Regions from separate parts of the Homo sapiens genome. Here region 1 is linked to region 2. Evidence: promoter capture Hi-C in 16 types of primary human blood cells and fetal thymus (Javierre and others, 2016). All regions are on one chromosome and are shown on one strand. Each heading gives the region's core, a stretch centred on a gene start or on the middle of the fragment in contact. The rest is flanking DNA. Distances are from core to core; before and after follow the strand shown. Region 1 holds the start of HECTD2 (HECT domain E3 ubiquitin protein ligase 2). Region 2 holds the start of EXOC6 (exocyst complex component 6).

Region 1 (6,258 bases), core at 1,769-4,268, 1.4 Mb after region 2:
TTAGGCACCTCCTCACTAGCTGGAATGGACTTCCTTCACGTTTAGATGGTCTTAGGATAAAACACTTCAGGGCTGCCCTTTCCAGCATTCTTTCTCCCACCCCTGTACCTTTCTGTAAACATAAAGGATACAGCCTAACTCTTCAACCTTATTTAGGGTCACTGTAAACTGACCTTCTACTTATTGATAATATTTATATTATTTTATTCATATATATTCATTTATAAATGTGGTACAATGATTTTCTGAAAAAGCCACTATTGTAGGGTCACGAATTGAGTCATAGACACAAACTAGACAGGCAGAACCATTAGGCTGGGGCAAAAAGGAACAATCACTGGAATGTCTCAAAGAAAAAGTTATTGATGACAATTAGGTTCCTAAGCAAACCTCTAGGAGCTCTATTTAATCTACAGGAGGCTGAAAAACAACTCAAGAGGCCACAAGCTGTATTTCCCTGCCCACCTACCTCACACATCAAGACCTCCTCCCCCTCCCCACACATACCAAGGCCTTCCTAGCTGCTGTAAAAGTCAATCACCACCCCAGTTCTCCTGGATTTCTTATCCTTTGGATGGACTAAGGACCAAGCATAGATTTTCTACACTTAAGCTTTTCACTGCTATTAGCTCTGAATTCTAGCTTTGAAGTCTCTCTTTGACAAATACACACACACACACACACACACACACATTCTGCCACAGATCCTGTCATAAATTGTTTTTTTTTTTAAAAAATAAATAATCAATGGTACTGACTCTGAAAGACTTTATAAGGCACAAGCAAGGCTGAGGCAGGAGAATGGCTTGAACACGAGAGGCAGAGATTGCAGTGAGCCGAGATCAGGCTACTGCACTTCAGCCTGGCGACAGAGCAAGACTCCGTCTCAAAAAGAAAAAAAAAAAACCCTCAAGTTTTGTATATTTATCCTTATCCTCTTCTATTCCAACTCATACCTTTTCAAAGTTTAATTCAAGATTTAAATTTTTTTCTTGAATATATTCTTCTCTTTGTCTAGTAGTACAAGTCCATAATCCTCTATTTACAATTTCAAAGTCCTATAAATTCTTGAAACTGAAGTGTCTTTGCAACTCATTTGGTGGCAAAAACATGCACCTAATCTGAAATGACATGACGCTACTGACTTTTTCCCTTTAGCATGAACACATAATTTCATTACAGTTATTAAGATGGTTGATTAGAGAGAACTGGCTAGGACCTTACTGTGGGTATTAAATAATATATGATATATGTACCGAATTACCTTTCTAAAATCTGAAAAACTTGAAATCCCAAAGCAGACTGTAGACTTGTATCCACACTTGCAAATTCCAAAACGGCAATTTTTCAGTTATGAGATGAATAGGTTTTTGGGAGAGCGTTTGCTTGAGGACCTAAACCCACTCATTTAACTGTTTCTATAAGTACATACATTTACTGTTTTAAACAACCAACTTAGAAATGAACTGCTGGAATTCTGTGAGTTAAAGACTTCCTATATAAAATCTGAAAACCTAGGGTACCAGCAGCAGGAACCAGGTCTCCAAGCAGCTGGGTGACAAATTCCTTCAAAGCATTTTCTAGGGTAATCCCTAACCCCAGCTCCAATCTACCAATCAATTGTAGCTACGCTTTTAAACGTGTATCATTACTGTTCGCAATTTGCTGCATTGATTTAAAGAGCTTGTTTTAACAATTTCCAGTTATCAGGGCCCTCAGACATTTTTGAAAAACCTACCGAATCCGAAAATTATTCCTAACACCAATACAGTACTTAACGAAGAGTGAGCTATTTTAGTAAGTTCTTAGTCATTTAAGAGGGAGGTTTTAAGAAATGAACCGCAAGTAGGAATAAAGAAAATGTATAATGTTCACTAAACTTTTACTATTTTGTCACACACAGCTGCATGACAAGTCATGATCTTTAAATATATCAAAGCAAACTTTCAAAAAGTACTTAAATATTATGTCAAAATAAAAAATTGCAAAATCCGAGGTTTTTTTTTAAATTGTGCTTCAAATTAACCAGTCACAACCACCAGTAAAAATAGGGAAAGAGGGGGAGGGGGCTGTCCCATGACATCATCTGGCAATATGTAGTTTGAAGCCTGACAGCGCTCTCCAAATAACCCTTACGAAGATACAGCTGGGAAATCATCCCTGTCAAGCTTAGATAACTTGGGTTTAAATAAAAGGTTCAAAAAGCCTCCCCCCACCTGAGTCACATGTCTGTACCATATGAAAAATAAAACCATCACTGATGCATCTACCTCCCACTACACTGACAGCAACGGAAAGGTCACAATTAAGTGGAAACTCGCCGCAGAGCCTGTTTAATCTGAAGGGGGAAGGGAAAGAAAAGCGAAGAAAAGGACAAAAATCTGCGCGCCTCCAAGGCAGGCAGGCAGGCAGGCACCTCCGTGGAAAACCCACTCCCGCCTGCTGACACCTATGCTCATCCAACAGATCATGCCGACTCAAGATGCAGGTCATTCTCTTAGAGAAAGTGGGGGCCCAAGCCCCAGAAAATAACCCAAACATCCAGCGGAACCGACCACCCCCAACATTTCCCGAGGGTGGTAGGTGTACCTCGCGAAGTGTTCGGGGCTGTCCACGAGGCACAACTCTTTTATTTCTGCCCAAGGAAGGGCGGCCTGAGTGCGTCTCCCTGGAGTGCCAGGGCGTGCCCAGGGTAAACGCAGGCCTCCTGACGGCCCTCGCCCGGCCGCCGTCCCTCCCAACTCCCGCCGTCCGGGGCGCCAGACGGCCCCGGCCCACCACCTACCGCGGTCGCGCCGGCGCCCGCCGATACGATGGGCGGCAGCTTCTCGCGCTCTGACTCCTTCCCTTTCCTCTCCTCAGGCGCGGGCGCCGCCACCACCAGCGGAGTGGCGGGCGAGGGTACCCGAACCGCCTCACTCATGTCGGGCCGGGCGGCGGGAGCGCCAGGCGGCGGCGGCGGCCTCAGTGTTGCTGGGGCTGGCGCTGCTGCTGCCGCCGCGGCCGCGAGAGGGCTCTGGGCTGCCGCTTCTAGCCGCCGCTGCCGCCGCCACTCCGCCCCCGCCCGCGCCCGCGCCTTTGCGCGCGAGCCCGAGGCCGCCCCCGCGCGCGCCAGCCCCGCGGACGCGGCTCCCCACAGGTCCCACAGGTTTCTTGCTCTCGCCTCCCCCGCCCGCCCGGGGCTCGCGCGTCGCGGGTCGGGAGCGCCGGCGGTAGTCCCCCTCGTCAACCCCGAGGGCCCGGAGAGAAGGCGCCACGGTCGACGCCCGACCGCCATATTGTTTGCAGAGTGTCGCCCGAGATGACGAGGAGACCCCGCACCCGGGCCGCGCAGGAGAACCTGGACTAAGGACGGGCAGTCGGGGAGACAAGTCGAGCCCTGCAAAGGGTCGGACGGGGATAGAGTGTCCGAGTGGTACCAGTAGGGCAGGACGTAGGCACAGACTACCCTTCACGGACGGCCCTGGCCTGCGGCGCCGAGTCCCGCGGGCAAGCGCCCTCGGGGTCTGGGCTGGTGGCCTTTCGCCTTCTTCCAGGCGCCCACAAAGCTGTCCGCCTTGGGGCTTCTGCCTTCTTATCCTTGCCCGCCCTCCTGAGCCCAGGAGAGGCGGCCCGGAGCTTGCGCAGCCCGGGGAGACAGCCTTCCTGGCTCAGCAACCGACTCTTTTGTACACGCCTGGATGGCTTCAGCCTACACAGGAAAAGCCTGGAGGTGGGGAGGAGTGCGACGTGGTGGGCCCCCCCTTTCCCCTTCCCCCATAGGATTGGACGGCCAGTCCACACTTTCCATTCCTGTTCCTCTCGTCCCTCTTTGACTGCCAAATCCGCCTCTCCCTTCCCGTCCCCACGCGCCTACGTTTTGCTCTCTCCCCGCAACCCTTTGCTGTCTCCTATCCGTCCCTTCCTTGTTCCTTTCCGTTTATGTTAGAGATGTACATACCCAAACTCTGCTGCACAGTCCTCAATCAAATCATTACAAATAGGAGTAAAAACTTGAAAGCCGAAGAAGAGAGCTTTTAATTATGAAATTAAAATACCCCCCACCTCCACCACCAGGACACCTAGACAATTTCCTTTCCTTTCTTGTCGCCCCCTCCTTTTCCTTTTTCTCAGTCTACTGGAGCGGCGGGGACACCTGCTGATCTAGGAGAAAAGAGAGTAAGAATGCGCTGTATCGCCTGTTAAAAGCAAGGAATTTCGATATTCAGCTCTATCAGATTTTTTATCTGTGCCTTCATTATTTTATTGGAGGTTGAGTGAATTTTTAGATCAAGAGTACCTAAGTCCAAATATAAGAACCAAAAATATCTCTGAAACAAACCCAAATATGATTTCGGGGTATCTATTGTTTACATAATTTGGAGTTATTAGTATAACTAAATACTAGTTATGGTGCATCATGAGATAAGGTTGCATGTTTTCAAACCCACAATTTGTAACAAGTAGATCTGAAGCAAACAATGTTGCCTTCTAAATTTTGAATTCTGACTTTCATTTATAGAAAGGCTTTCTACTTTAATATAGTTGCTGTTGCCACCTATTTACTTGTTAATTAACAAAAGGTATAGAATAAGTGCCATATAGTCAGCAAAAAGTATTTCAGTGCTAATAGCCTTGGAGGGAAAATGATGTATGTCGGCATTACTTTGAAGCATCCTCCTCCTTTCTATTAATATTTTTCTAAATTCTTTTTCAGGATTTTCTTTCCTTAAAACTACTGAAATACTCATCCCATAGAGAGGAACATAACATTATTTTCTGCTTTTAGCAGGTCTGTATGCTGATCATGGATACAGGAACAACTCAAATGTTATTTTATAAAATGAAGCCTTTATTTTAGCTGCAATTTCAGATATTCTGTGCTAAGTCTAGGTTGATAGAACAAATACTAGAGGGAAAAGTATCCTCTTTCCTATTGTTTTCAACTAGATTTAGTAATTTGCTATAAAAATGTTTGGATGAGAAACCACTTGGATAACAGGCCTTCTGCTTTCTTTTTTCATGTGTGAGACTAAATAAAAGTGTGTCTGTACATGTAGTCACATTCAATAGAACAAACTGCTTAAATATTGGCAAAACAAGGCAAGTCAAAAATGTTAATTTCTGCTACTGCACCAGAGTAGATAACCCATTTCTTAACAAATTCTCTGATTAATTAGCTTGTGAGTTCCATGTAAAAAATGATAATTTGTTCATGTTTCCTTTGACTTCTTATTAAATAAATGTCCTCAATCCACCACCTCATCCCTCCCTCATACATAGTCCAGGAGGGGGCTGGAGAATGGGAATGGGGCCTGCTGGAAAGCTGTAGAATTATAGCTCTGGGGGAACTCGTGGTGTGCTTGAGAGACACATTCCCAACTGCCATCAGTGTGCTTCTGGAGACCCAGGTGGGAGAAGAGAGTGTTGTAAAGCAGGACATACAGAGAGCTCTGGCCATTCTGTACAGAGGTGTGGAGAAGATGCTTTTTAGCTATGCCAAGTGTCAGACGTGCAACAGTGAGGGTATCCAAGTATAAACTCATTCGCTTTGGAAAAACTAGGAGCGAGGCAGAAGAAGCATTTCATGTTTCTAAGTCCAGATGGAAGACCTGAGCTCATTAATTATACCTATGGGGAATAGGGTTTGGCAGGGTGGGAGTGAGGGTTAGAGAACTCATTATTTCCCTGGAAGAAAAAGAAAGACAAAATTACAAGGTAATGGAAGGTCGAAATTATAGATAACTTCTATTTTAATTATGTATAGTAATACTAATGTAGTGAACAATAGCAAAATAGGTGCACAGGTCATTTTAGAATGGTTTATACCACTAATACCTTAATTTTAGAAGGTATAGCTATGAAATAGTGCAACTTATTTTAATATTTCAACTGAATGTTGTCCTAAAGTAAACTTGGGGAAATTATTTTAGCCATGTTGACCTTGTTAAAAAGATTTTTAGAACTCTTTCTTAGGTATAATGGTTGTGGATTTTTAAAATTACTATTTAAAAAATAACTTGGCTGGGTGTGGTGGCTCATGCCTGTAATCCTAAGACTTTGGGAGGCCAAGGCAGGTGGCTCACTTGAGGTCAGGAGTTTGAAACCAGCCTGGCCAACATGGTGAAACCCTGTCCCTACTAAAAATACCAAAAATAAATAAATAAATAAATAAATAAATAAATAAATAAATAAATAAATAAATTTAGCCAGGTGTGGTGGTGGGCACCTGTAATCCCAGCTACTCGGGAGGCTGAGGCAGGAGAATTGCTTCAACTC
Region 2 (6,917 bases), core at 3,370-5,869:
TCTACATGAAATTTAGAATCAGCTTGTCAATTTCTATAAATTTTCATTCTGCTGGGATTTATTCAGATTATCTTGAATATCTAGACTAAGTTGGAGAAAACTGACATCTTAACAATACTGTCTTCCAATCCATGAAAACAGTATGTGTCCACTTACTTAGTTTAGTATCAGCAATGTTAATTTAATTTATATCAGCAATGTTTTGTATTTTTCACATACAAGTCTTCCACATCTTTAGTCAGATTTATCCCTGAGTATTTCATATTTTTGATACCATCAAATTTTAAATTTCAATTTCTGATTGTTGCTAGTACAGAGAAACACAATTGGCTTTTGCATATCCACCTGATTCCTACAACCTTGCTAAACTCACTTATCAGTTCTAGTAGCTTTTCTGTACATTCCACAGGATTTTCTATAATAGTTGATCACACAGTGTGCAAATAAAGACGGTTTTCCAAACTAGATGCTTTTTTTTTAAATGGTCTTATTATACCGGCCTTATATTCAACATTCTAGTACAGTGTTGAATAGAAGTGGTGAGAATGAATATCCTTACCTCATTCCTGATTTTAGAGGAAAAGCATTCAGACTCTTACCACTAAGCACAATTTAGCTCTAGATTTTCATAGATGCCCTGTTTTAAGCTGAGGAATTTCCATTACTAGTTTCTGAGGGTTTTTAAAATCAGGAATTAATATTCGATTTTGTCAATGCTTTCTCCACATATATGATCATACAACTTTTCTTTGTTTAATATGGTGAACAATGTTACATTGATTTTTCAAATGTTAAGCCAGCATCTTTCTTGAAATAAACCTCACTTGATCATGATGTATTCTTCACATATATATACACACACATATATACATATACAGAATATACTTTTTATATAGATGTATTTTATACTTTTAAATCCACATATATGGATTTAATTCTCTAAAATTTTTTGTAAAATCTGTGTGTATGAGGAATACTGATTTAGTTTCCTTTTCTAGTTATGTCTTTCTTTCTTTAGTTCTGGTATCAGGTTAATGTTGACCTCAAAATGAGCTGGGAAATATTCCCTCCTCTTCAATTTTCCAGAAAAGTCTTTGTAGAATTGGCATTAATTCTTCCTTAAAGATGTAGAATCCACCAGTAAAACTATCTGGGCCTAGAGTTTCCTTTTGGGGAAGGCTTATAACAGCAAAATTCCCTTTCTTTAATTGATACAGGGCTATTCAGCTATTTCTTCTTAAGTGAACTTTGATAATACTTTGTATCTTTCAACTAATTTGTCCATTTCTGCTAAGTTGCCAAATGTATGAGCATGAAGTTGTTCATAATATATATACATTTTTTGAGATGGGGGTCTCACTCTGTTGCCTAGGCTGGAGTGCAGTGGCACAATCTCAGCTCTCTACAGCCTTAACGACCCAGACTCTGAGCCATTCTCCCACGTTAGCCTCCCGAGTAGCTGGGACCACAGGCACACACCACCACACTTAGCTAATTTTTGTATTTGTAGAGACAAGGTCTCATTATGTTACCCAGGCTGGTCTTGTATGCCTGAGCTCAAGCAATCCTCCTGCTTCAGCCTCCCAAAGTGCTGGGATTACAGGCATGAGCCACTGCACTCAGCCTATTCATAATATTTCTTAACCTTTTTTTAATGTCTGTAGAATCTATAGTCACGTAACCTCTCTCACTCCCGTTTTTTTGTTTGTTTGGTTAGTTGGTTGGTTTTGTTTTTTTTTTGTTTGTTTTTGTTTTTGTTTTTTTAAGATGGAGTCTCGCTCCGTCGCTCAGGCTAGAGAGTAGTGGCATAATCTCGGCTCACTGCAACCTCCGCCTCCCGGATTCAAGCGATTCTCCTGCCTCAGCCTCTCGAGCAGCTGGGATTACAAGCGTGTGCTACCACACCCAGCTAATATTTTTTTGTATTTTTAGTAGGGACGGGGTTTCACCATGTTGGCCAGGCTGGTCTCAAACTCCTGACCTCAAGTGATCTGCCTGCCTCGGCCTCCCAAAGTGCTAGGATTACAGGCGTGAGCCACCGCGCCTGGCCCTGTTATTTTTAATTTGTATCGTCTCCTTTTCTACCCCTAAAGGTTTATCAATTTTACAGTCTCCTCAAAGAACCAGTTTTGAGTTTCACTGACTTTCTGTATTTCTGTCTCACTGAATACCACTCTGATCTTTACCATCTCCTTTCTTCCACTCTTCTGAATTTCATTTGCTCCTCTTTTCCTAGTTTCTTAGGCTAGGAGCTGAAGCCATTCTTTTCTAGTAGAGGTGTTTGGTGCCATAAACTTCTAACTATTTCTTTAGCTGCATTCACAAATGATATGCTGTGTTTTCATTTTACTCAGTTTAAAATACTTTCTAATTTCTCTTTTGATTTATTTTTTGTGTGTTAGTCAATGACCAAATATTTGGGAATTTTCCAGATAGTTTTTGTTTTTTTGTTTTTTTTAACTACTGATTTCTAATATACTTCTGTTGTGGTCAAAGAACCATGTTATATGTCAGGGCCTGCGGAAAGTTTATCACGTGCTTCTCAGGAAAAGATCAGGCTGAAAAATCCCGCCGCTGAGAAAAAACAATATAAATAAAATGATAAGTCTACAGGCCAGCTAAAAGATAATTAGGAAATAACAACAAAAATTAATCTTAATACTAAAATATTTATGAATAAATTGATGTCTTGGATTTCCTTCAAAATAATCCAAGATGATAGGGAGTAGATAAGGGAAGAGATCAAACAAGACTGGCCAGGGAATGAATTGAAGCTAGATGACAGTTCATGGTGGTTCATTACACTATTTTACTTTTTTAAACATTTAAAATTTTTCCATAATAAATGGTTTTTAAAAATGCAATATTAACACTTCACTTCGTGAAACCTGAAAAAAAAGGGAAAAAATAGTAGTAGCTTAAACAATGTTCAAGAGAAAAGACTGCTAGCAGTACCCTCTATATGTGTGCAAAAAGCGTCTGCTTATAAATGAGACACAAATATACATATATATGGGATAAGTATGAGTCACCAGGGATTGCTAAAGAAAAGAGAGTGGGTTCAAACAAAATGAGCCAGTTGAAACAACTGCCCAGCAAAAAAGAACAGAATAACACTATGAATACACATATTCTGTTCCTGAGTGTCCCAAAAATCTCTCAATATATTTCAAATTTTTCTTCTAAGTTAATTTCATCTTTTTTCAAGGACACTACCTAGCACATTTTCCTAAGATGAAGCACCTCCTTCATAACCAGTACTATTTTCACAAATAAACTACTCTAGTAACTTTATCACACACTGCACTCTCAGTTTCAAGATGCAGTGATGAAAACAAAGCTTCCTTTTAATCTTACTTCTTTCATTACCAAGTATACAGTTTATTAAAAGAAATAATAATGTTGGAAAATTAAGGAAATGCACTAATTATGCATTATCATATCATAGCAGAAACCTTATGTGACAAAAATTTATAACATGCCTACCACATGCTTGGTGTTAGGGATACAGTAGTGAACAAATAGGCAAGGTCCCTAATGTTCTGAGTTTCCTGGGCATCTGAATACTCTCCCCTCCCCATTCTACAAATAAGGAAACCGAGATCCAGAGAGGTTAAATAATTTTTTTCCATGACTGCACATTTCATCAGAGGCAGAATTAGGGCAAAACAAGAACCCAGGCCTCCTGACTCTTAAGGGCAAGGTGTATTTACATAACTTGAACTGGCTTCAATTTACACTATATTCACAGGTCCACAAACTGTACAGCGCTCTATTCTAGGAAGTGTATTCTGAAGAATACTAATGATAAAGCATAATCAGTCTCAAGTTCCCTAAGTGAATAATAACTTCATTTATCATTATTATCACTCCAAAAGATGAAACCTTATATGTAAAAGGAACTTATTCTTGAAGACAGTGCCTAACCTAACCCATGGCTCATTACGTTGCCTGGCTAATAATATTCTATTGGAACAGCAGGTACTCAGTTTGGCATGGAATATGCATTACCTAGTACTATTCTTAAAATGAATGGGGAGGAACTCGATTTAAACGGAAAAATTAATGCAATTTTAATGAAATGTTTGTAAATAAGTAAAAGCTGTTCTGCCTCCAAAGCAGCTTAGATCCCGCGAGCGCAGGGTCACCCTAGCGTGTTCCCAAGCAGCAAGCAGCTGCTCTCCTCCAGCCCACGCTCTCTTCTCCAGCCCACGCTCTCTTCTCGCCCACTGCGGCCGCGCGGGGGAGTAGGGGGAAAGCGGGCCGGCGTCTCCCGCTCAATTTCAATTCTCCCACGCCCGCGGCAGCCCGGCGCGCCAGGCTTTCCACCCGCGCGCGACCTGGCACCTCCGTCACGCCGGGTGCCTGCTGTCGACCCTAGCCTGGCATGCCCGCGGCCGAGCAGCCCTCAGCCCCACCACGAGCGAGACGGGGGCAGGCCCCAGAAGTGTCCTCGGGCCCGGGGGCCGCAGCCAGGAGGAGAACGCGGGGCCGCAGCGCGGGGCCCGGGGTTAGAGACCCTGCAGCAGCCACACCCACCGGCTGCGGGGTGACAGCTACAGCGGTGGAGGCAGGCCGCGCCGACAGGTGCAGCCGCCTTCTCGGTCCCGCCCGGGTACCGGCTAGAGTTCCGCCACCCGCGAGCGCCCCCGCCCGCCCCCGCGCGCACCACCTGTCGGGGAGCTTCGCGCGCGGCCGGCGGCGGACGCCCCGCCCGGCTCGTGAGGAGCGGCCGGCGTGGGGCGGGGGGCCGAAGTCCCGGTGGGATGAGATCTTTACCGGAGGGTGGGCCCCACACAGGCGGTGTCGGTGCTCTCGATCTCCTGCAAGATCCGCTCGTGCTCGGGGACGGTGCCCAGACTCTCGCTGTTCTCCGCCATTTTGGCTGGAAGCTGAGGAGCCAGCGAGGCGCGGCGCCGCGGGAACGACGGGGGCGAGCTCCAAGTGGCGCGAGCGCGAAGGGGCGGGGCGGGGGCGGGGCGCTCGGGCCGGCGGCGCGGGGGCGCGCGGAACGCCGGGCAGAAGGCGCGCGACCCGGTTCCCGCCCCCGCACCTGCAGGAGTGAGCGGGGGCTGTGAGCTGGGGCTACGGGCGGCGGCCGGGTACCCAGCTGGCCTCCTGCCCTCTCTCGCGACTAGTCCCTCCTGGGCGTCTTGTGCCTGGCCTTTGGGCTTTAACATATCTCCTTGTCTTCTGTGTGTGCCACACCCTGTGCCACACGCGGGGGTACCGTAGTAATCAGCAAGGTGGACACTCAGATCATCACCCTGAATCTGTAATAAGAGCCACGGGGACATTTAACAAGGGCCTGATGTACTCTGGGTCGTGGGGAGTCAGAGAAAGGAAAACATGCACTCACGAAAAGCAAAATTGCATGTGATAGTAAGATTTATTTTAGGAACGAATAAAGATCCCAGTTGACCATGAAGACCGCTCCAGGTGGATTCATGTCCCCGCCTGCAAGAAGTCCACAGCGGCCAGTCAACTTGGAAATAAATTATAAGCGACATAAAAAATTAAATGATGAGAAGTTAAGACACTTGATGGCAGAGATACCAAAAAAAAAAAAAAAAAAAAAGGCCCAGGGCGATGTGTAATTCATACCAAAGTCCGTGAACTCAGGTGCCCCCAGGTCAGAGTAGCTGGGTTGAGAAGGGGTGAGAGCTCTTGAAAGGGGGTTAGCAGCAGGGAGGTGGGAGAGAGAGGCAGGGAGGCTTGGACAAAGGTATCAGTGTAGAAAAAAGTCGTGCTTAATGACATGTTTGTGGGACACTGAGTAAACCAGTTTGTCATGATCAAAGCAGGGAGGAAGGAAGACTAAACAGGAACAGAATGGAAACCTAGCCTGAGGAACAACTACTTTCTGCTCTACATTAATCCAGGGCTTTGAAAAGCTTCCCTTTGAGTCAACCAAGCTCTTTATCCAGCTGTGTAACTCACTCACCCTTAGTGAGCTTTTACTTGAAACCTACCTCCAGCCTCCTCCCCACAAACATCCTGGGAGGTGGTATTGTGCAATAGTTAGAGCATGAGCTCTGAAGACCAGTGTCCGAAGACATTAATTCTTGGATTAATATCACTTGACAGCTGTGTGACATTGGGCAAGAACCTAGTTCTTTTATATGTCAGTTAAATGACTGTAAATGACAATGGCAGTGTCTGCCTCATATTGCTGTCCCATGGTGTATGAGTTTTCCATTGTTGCTTTAACAAATCACCACAAATTGAGTAGCTTAAAATGACTCAGACATATTATCTTACAGTTCTGTACGTTAGAAGTCTGTCACAGGTCTCACTGGGCTAAAAATCAAGGTGTCAGCATGTCTGTGTTCCTTGCTAGAGACTCTGCGGGAGAATTTGTTTCTTTGCCTTTTCCAGCTTCTAGAGGCCACCCACATACCTTGGCTTGTGGCCCCCTTCCTCCATCTTCAAAGCTAGCAGCATTACATCTCTCTGACCATTCTTCTGTGGTCACATCTTCCTCTGACTCTGACTTAGGCTGGAAAAGATGCTCAGTTTTTAAGGACCCATATGATTAGAGTGGACCCAACCATTTAATCCAGGATAATCTTCCATCTCAGGGTCCTTAACCTTAATCACATATGCAATACCCCCTTTGTCATGTAAAAATAACATATGCACAGGTTCCAGGGATTAGAATGTGAGCATCAGTGGGACCCACTGCCTACCAAACTTAGGAAGGGCCCTATAAAACATTGCTAATGCCCTCCTTCCTATTAATCTGGAATCTTCAGAGCAATGGATTCCAGCTATACACATCCATTGAGCTAAGACAGTCTTCCATTTCCTGCAGAGAGACCTAGCTTTTCATTCTTTTTGTGGGAGGGGATAAAATTTGTCTTCTTTTTTTTATGTTTCAGTTTCAATTTTCAAAAGGTTATTTTCCCCTCTCAAGA

Evidence for each region. Contacts are between HindIII fragments. The CHiCAGO score rates a contact against its expected background, and 5 or more counts as called.
Region 1: the fragment with the promoter of HECTD2 here is called in contact with a fragment that was not itself captured in region 2 in 7 of 17 cell types (non-activated CD4 T cells, total CD4 T cells, naive CD8 T cells and 4 more); the score reaches 12.8 in non-activated CD4 T cells.

Annotation. Positions count from the first base shown.
Region 1 is chr10:91,407,104-91,413,361 of GRCh38, reverse strand. HECTD2 (HECT domain E3 ubiquitin protein ligase 2) reads right to left here and starts at 3,018. Exons shown (of 21, transcript NM_182765.6): 1 at 2,786-3,018. The coding sequence starts at 2,923. All of the region lies in intron 3 of HECTD2-AS1 (HECTD2 antisense RNA 1), which reads left to right. RefSeq lists a silencer at 2,662-3,251 and an enhancer at 3,402-3,611. The HindIII fragment of the contact is 4,522 bases long and covers 2,171-6,258 here.
Region 2 is chr10:92,846,497-92,853,413 of GRCh38, reverse strand. It overlaps EXOC6 (exocyst complex component 6), which reads right to left and starts at 4,894. Exons shown (of 22, transcript NM_019053.6): 1 at 4,780-4,894. The coding sequence starts at 4,880. RefSeq lists silencers at 4,448-4,787, 4,928-5,077. The HindIII fragment of the contact is 2,554 bases long and covers 3,343-5,896 here.